2 separate regions of the Homo sapiens genome follow, and region 2 is linked to region 1. Evidence: promoter capture Hi-C in human tissues and cell types (Jung and others, 2019). All regions are on one chromosome and are shown on one strand. Each heading gives the region's core, a stretch centred on a gene start or on the middle of the fragment in contact. The rest is flanking DNA. Distances are from core to core; before and after follow the strand shown.

What was found. Contacts are between HindIII fragments. The study calls those that stand out against the background at their distance.
Region 2: a fragment that was not itself captured here is called in contact with the fragment with the promoter of ZNF670 in region 1 in 2 of the 25 tissues and cell types used here (neural progenitor cells and thymus).

The regions. Positions count from the first base shown.
Region 1 is chr1:247,076,766-247,080,068 of GRCh38, reverse strand. ZNF670 (zinc finger protein 670) reads left to right here and starts at 1,258. Exons shown (of 4, transcript NM_033213.5): 1 at 1,258-1,475. The coding sequence starts at 1,473. ZNF670-ZNF695 (ZNF670-ZNF695 readthrough (NMD candidate)) reads left to right here and starts at 1,258. Exons shown (of 7, transcript NR_037894.2): 1 at 1,258-1,475. RefSeq lists silencers at 1,224-1,293, 1,082-1,395. The HindIII fragment of the contact is 11,562 bases long and covers 1-3,303 here.
Region 2 is chr1:247,039,396-247,042,822 of GRCh38, reverse strand. It overlaps ZNF670 (zinc finger protein 670), which reads left to right. Exons shown (of 4, transcript NM_033213.5): 2 at 3,286-3,412. The region is part of intron 1 of ZNF670-ZNF695 (ZNF670-ZNF695 readthrough (NMD candidate)); the gene reads left to right. It also overlaps the pseudogene LOC100420880. Among named protein-coding and RNA genes, the nearest start is that of ZNF695, 33 kb to the right of the region's middle. The HindIII fragment of the contact is 4,338 bases long and covers 1-3,427 here.

The sequences.
Region 1 (3,303 bases), core at 9-2,508:
CCATTTTTAATAGAAGAATGAGAACTAATACCTGTAGAGAAAATAATTAGAAAACCACTATTTGGCAACTCTCACTGAGATAAGTGAAATTAAGAAATAGTAATCAATAAATAATGAACAGTTACATGAAAGGAACAGGCAGACATTCCCGAACAACCTTAAAATAAAGTGGTAAAACCAGACACGTGTATCCAAATGTGCAGGCTGAATTGAAACATGCTGGAAGCTTAATATATAGAGTGATTTTTCATTAATAATATATCGATTGTAAGGCCGTCTGAGCAGGCTGCGCCATGGTCAAGCCATTGTGATCCCTGTGACCCACACGTGTACATCCAGAAGGTCCTGGAGCCAGAAAGTCTGGGACAACAGGAAAACCACAAAGGAAGAAAAACGGCTAGTTTCTGTCTTAGCTGATTAGCCAACCTTGCAGCATTTTACCGTTGTGACGTGCACTACCCTAACTGATCAATCAGCCTAGTGACACTGTGACCCCTCCCTCTTGTGACAATGTACTTTGTGACATTCTTCCCCCGCCGGTAATAAACGGCCCCTGACTGTAACTTTCCACTGCTTACCCCTCACCTATAAAACTAACTCCAATCCCACGACCCTCCGCTGACCCTCTTTTCGGACTCAGCCCGCTCGCACCCGAGTGAGTAAACTAGCCTTGCTGCTCACACTTAACCTGTTTGGGTAGTCTCTTCAATTAGGCGCGAGCTTAACATCGATCATATATTGAAACAATATTTTTGGATATATTTGGTTAAATAAATCATTGTAATCAATTTCACGTGTTGTTTTCTTTTCTATTGCTACTGGAACACACGCGGCTCACATTTTATTTCTATGGGGCGTTGCTACCTGAGAGGACATTGTCTTTTCAAAATTCAAGCTGCCTCTAATCCCACTAGAAGCAAGAAAAAAAAAAAAATTCAGGCTGCCTCCTCAAAAGACCAGAGGCCAGGAAGGTTGTGAAATCTGAAATTTTAGAATAATTGTCATCATAGTGTTTCCAATTGTAAATATCACAAATATTACTCATAAATGGACATAATCCTGTGTATGAGCTTGAATGGGAAAGTCCCCCGGGGGGCGCCAGGTCTCAGCACAGGGCAGAATCCATGCCTTAGAAAAGGACTGCAGGGAAAGAACCTGGCCTCACTCAGCGCCGTGTCTGATTGCATCTCCCGTCACTCAGGACTGAAGGGGCGGGGCCTAAGGCCCTGTCCAATCGGGCGCTGGGAAGGGGACTGTACTCTCAAGCGCGCCGCGAAAGGAGGGAGCAGCTTCCGGGACCTGGCGCGGCTTTTGTGTTGGGCAGCGCGAATGTGGCGAGCTCGGTGCGTCTCCGCTGCTCCTTCCCCTTATCCCTGGGAGGTCCAAGTGGTCCCGCGGCAGCTTCTGTTGCTCTGGGACCTGCAGGTCCCGGAAGGTCCTTAGGGAGGACCCCAGACACCGGAGACTGGGAAATGGTGAGTGTGCCGGCCAGGTGTCTCGGGAAGGGGAAAAGGGAACCGCCAGGAAGCGGTTGTGGCGAACCCGGACCTCCCCGCGGTGCCGACCCGAGTTTCCGCCGGCGCCTCGCGGCCTTAGTGGCACAGGATGCGGGGCTGGACCCGCAGCCAGACCCCGGGCCGCCTGGCTTGTCCCTGCCCCGCCGCTTCGGCCAGGCCCGGAACCCTTTCTGGGCAGCTCTGCCTCTGTAGACCCGCATCTCCCTCGGATCGTGCGGTGCCGACGGGAGGGTCCTCAGGGGAGAGTCCCGACTTGGGGTTCGGGGTTCCTGCGTGGGAGGAGCTGTGGTCTGTGAAGTCTCCAAATCCTCCTTTCTCCTGTTAGAAAGAAAACTGAGGCGCCGTTAAAATATTAAGGAGTTTATTTGAGCAGAGAGTCGTGAGTTAGGAAGCCACCAGCGTGGTTTGTGGTTTGGGGAAGGAAAGGGTTTTTTGTAAGGAACCCGAGGAAGCAAACCCAATTAAATAATTGATCGTGTACAGTTATGTAGTCACCCCATATAGACTGTGCAGCCAGATATCTCCTGGTTATGTAACCAGAGGTTAATTGGTGGGTTCGTGGTTGTTTAAGGCTGTTTTGTTTCCCTTTAAGTTATTAATTTACAAGACAAGCATGAGTTACGTTTTGGTTGGTTGTTTATTCATTCATGTGTGTATGTACATGTGTATGATGGAGTCTTGGACTCGGGCTCAAGCGATCCCCCCACCTCAGTCTCCCTAGTGCCTGTGTTTAATTATTTTCACATAACACTCCACATTTCTAAGTGTATGGCAACAGGATCTCACATCAACGACCCTGTTCCCACAGCCTAACTCTTCTGGGGCTTGTAGTAAAACCCTAAATTTCCAATTCTTTTCCTATATTCAAATGCAACATTATCAAGTATTTGTCTTTTATTGTACATTTCATACAGATGAAGTGTGTTATTTTTTTCAGAGTAGTGAGTCGTTCTGAAAATATTTGTTTTCACTCTTAAAATATTTCTGAACATTACACATGAGTGGAAAGCAGAAAATAATCACCTGACAGTTAATTGTAGAAAAAAAAAGTCTTTGTGCATCTCCTAATTTTATCTTTTTTGAGTGTGCACATCTTACCAGAGTATCTTTGGGGTGAAGTTCCCTTTTGGAAACTTTAGAGGGTGATATGTCCTCAGCCACCCTTATATCTTTTCTTGGTCCTCTGTTTAGCAGCCAGATCTCTTGGAGTGTCTAATGAATACCTTCTCCTGGGTCATCTCCTCACAGAGGACAGTTTAAAATATGGAAGTAGAGCCTCTCCAGGCAGCATCTGGGTGCCCTGGAGTTGAGAGACGTCTCCTAGTATACTCTTCGTTTAAAAAACAAATCCCTGGTGCATTGGGATTTTCTTCCTCCAACCCCAGTTTTCATCATTCCTTGGAGACACGTTGGTGGCAGCCAGTCAGATGCTGGTATTAAGGGAAAAATCTAGAAATGATTCCTGCGCTCTGGATTTTCTCGGACTTGGGAAAGGAGAAAAACTATCTCAAAGGACAAGGAATACCCACCCCAGTGAGGTGGTGCAAGAACCAGAAAAGCACCATCATCAGAATTATGTAAGAAGAGAGTTGGCTGGGCGTGGTGGCCCACGCCTGTAATCCCAGCATTTTGGGAGGCCAAGGGAGGCAGATCACTTGAGGTCAGGAGTTTGAGACCAGCCTTGCCAGTATGGCAAAACACTGTCTCTACTAAAAATACAAAAATTAGCCCAGTCTGGTGGTGCATGCCTGTAATCCCAGCTACTCAGGAGGCTGAGGCAGGAGAA
Region 2 (3,427 bases), core at 580-3,079, 38 kb after region 1:
TCAGACAGCGTGGTGGGGTCAGACATTTTCATGGAACTCAGAACTCAACCTAGGAAGCTTGACCATTGCCTTTTATGCCTACTTGCTCTACTGGAAATCAGAAGTGTCTGTCTCCATTTTTTTCTTTAATTCACTGCTGTCAACTTTTAATCCTAAACTTACTTTCTTCTACTTCTGACGTCACATCAGGATATGGTGAAAACAAGCCTGGGTGCTCTCTCTGGGTTTTGGCAGCAGATTGAAACCATGTAAATCTTTTCCCTTGAAACTGAATTCTCATCCTAGCTTTCCACCTACCCTCAACAGAAAACACAGGCCTGGCTCCTTTTCTTCCTCATTCAAACCATATCAAACCACCTTGAAAGGCCTGACCTAATGGATCCACAAGTGTCAATTTTCTGAGTAATAATTTCCTACCCTTTCCAAACACATCTCTGCCCGTGACCATCGCACTTAGTACCACTAGCAGAATGTTCAGACATTGCCCACCACCATGTGGTTCTGTCTTCTCTCGCAATGACTTGCTAATCGGTTCTGCCGCCTGGTATCTGGTGTGTACTTTAGCTGCTTGCTGAGCAACTAGCACTGTGAGCTGTGCTGCTCAATTTACTTATTTCTGTGAAATCTGTAAATCACGACTCAGATCACGTTATAAGGCAAAGAAACATAAAAATTGTGTTCTTTTACATTTTAATTAATTTTTAAGTTTTCTATTAAGAAATACAGTAAGAATGAGTAAAACATTTGTCAAGAGTTTTAGTAACAATAGTTGAAGCAACTTGGAAATTATAATTAAGATTCTTAACTGGGCCTCCTACAGTCATTAAGAGTTTTCTGATGGTTCCCACCTAGACTTATCTCTTAGTTGACCACTGTTGTGATTGTTTGGCTACTTTTTTGCATTTTTATCATCTGTAATTTTTCAGTTCCATTTTGCTTTACTTGAACTTTCTAAAATGAGTATGAATGGAATTAAAACAAAAAGGTTTATTGGTGATTTCCTTGTGTCAGTATGTTTCACACATGCTAGTGCCTGAGGCTGTGGACCATTTAATTCAGCCGTCCATTTTAATGATTCTGATGTGAGGGCTTTTTCAATTGTATTTTTTTGCTTTTGGGAAAAATAATGCTCCTATGATTTTATGCCACATCTCCAAGTGCAAATGCACCGTAAATTCTCTGGACATTTTAGAAAAATTAATGGGCTACACATTGTGGTAAGTTCAAATTAGAGCAATGGAGGGTATCAGTTGACTCCTCCTTCCTTCGTGAGTAACCCGTTTGCCATGGCCGTCATCACATGGAGTTGATTTTTTTCTTCTAGTCAATTTCAAATGTCATATACCTGACTATTTTCTATTTTCTCATTACCAAGGAAGTTGACTTTTTAAAAAAATAGGTGGTCTTTCATCTTCTTTTAAGTATGCTTTGCTTATTTTCTCACTTTTAAATCGTGTTCATTTTTACACTTCATACTAATTCTTTTATATTGCATGTATTACAGTTTTTTCCCACTGCTTTTTGCCTTTTAATTTCCTGAATATTAATATATGTGAATTTGCCAGTTCCTTTTTTTCTGTTTAAATGAATTCTGCCCATTTTTCTGTCCAAAAATACCCCTGTTTTCCTTCGAAGTCTGAACGTATTTTAGTTTTGTCTTTCATATTTGAAATAAAGAACTTGATTATTGTTCATGGAATAGAGGGGAATGCAATGTACTTTTTCAGTTAGTACCAATTTGCTCTACTGTATGTTTTAAAGTGCTTTTGATTTCTTCCACTATTCTGGAATGCTCTGTCATTAATGAACTTTACATACAAAATTCCTGCTTACAGGCCAGGCACAGTGGCTTGTAAGCCCAGCACTTTGGGAGGCCAAGGCAGGCAGATTACCTGAGGTCAGGAGTTCAAGATCAGCCTGGGCAACATGGTGAAACCCTGTCTCTACTAAAAATACAAAATCAGCTGGGCGTGGTGACACATGCCTGTAATCTCAGCTACTCGGGAGGCTGAGGCAGGAGAATCGCTTGAACCTGGGAGGCAGCGGAGGATGTGGTGAGCCGAGATCACGCCATTGCACTCCAGCCCGGGCAACAAGAGTAAATCTCCATCTCACCAAAAAAATAAAATAAAAAAATAAAATAAAAATAAATTCCTGCTTATTTAAAACTTTTTTCCCTTTTGGACTATTTGTTTATCTCCACATTAATACTGTCCTGAATATTATAGTTTGAAAATTCTGATACATGGTAAGGAAGCCATTGCCCTATTGTTTGGAAGACTTTGACAATTCTTAGACATTTTTTTTTTGTTAGGTTTGGAAAAGTAGTTTTCAGTTGCTAATAAAGTGTCTGTTTTGGGGATTGATGGAATTTTTTAAGGCTATTTGAAAGAGGTGATATCTTGATGACATTGAGTTTCTTCTAAGCACACGTACTATCTTTCCACTTACTCCATTGCACTTTGTTGTTATCCAATAGAAATTTTAAAATTGTTTTGTTTGTTATTAAAGATAAATTATCAGTCTTATTTACAACTGGGTTTAATTTGGTCTGGAGTAAACTACTTGCAAGCTTCCAAATATTTTCTTATTATAATCACGTTGATGCCTCATTTCTCCAGTTAACAAGTTGTAACAGCATATGAGAAATATTGTTTACCAAGAATGCTCATTAGAGACTTAATGCTCAGAGTGTTTTTCAGAGCTGATCCCCTAGGTACCACTGCAAGAATGGAGTAAAGTAGTAGGCTTTCAGAAACAAAACAAAACTGGAGTTCAGCGAATAATATATTGTTTGCATAAGATTGTTTACATATTGTGAACCACTCACTTAGGGTGATGAGATCCGTCAAAAAAATCTATTTTCTCACACCAAAAGGTCAGACTTTGTGAGCAGGTATTTCTAAGGATATGTAGTCTTAAGACTTAATACTAACTGTTATACACAACAAATAGCATGACTTCGTTATGAGAGGCCCTTAAGATAAAATCTACACATAGAAATTAGGGGTGACCTCATTTCTTACAGCACAGTTTATTCCCTGCACCTGCCAATGAGACAGGTGTTCCTACTCTGCTGTTGACTTTCTGAATAGTTTCATTTTAGCATGAAGAATGTTGAGTGGGCAGCAGTAAGTGCAGACAGAGAGTAAAGTTCTGATGACCAGGTCATGGAAGAAATGTTTGAAGTCTGCAGAATTATGTTACGATTTTATGAGATGAGTATAGATTCTTAGTACTGTCTGTCTAAGCCATCCTCCTCTCCACATATGTGCGATATTCTAGGATTCAGTGTCATTTGAAGATGTGGCTGTGGCCTTTACTCAGGAGGAGTGGGCTTTGCTGGATCCTTCTCAAAAGAATCTCTACAGAGATGTGATGCAAGAAATCTTCAGGAACCTGGCTTCTGTAGGTAAGAATAACAACA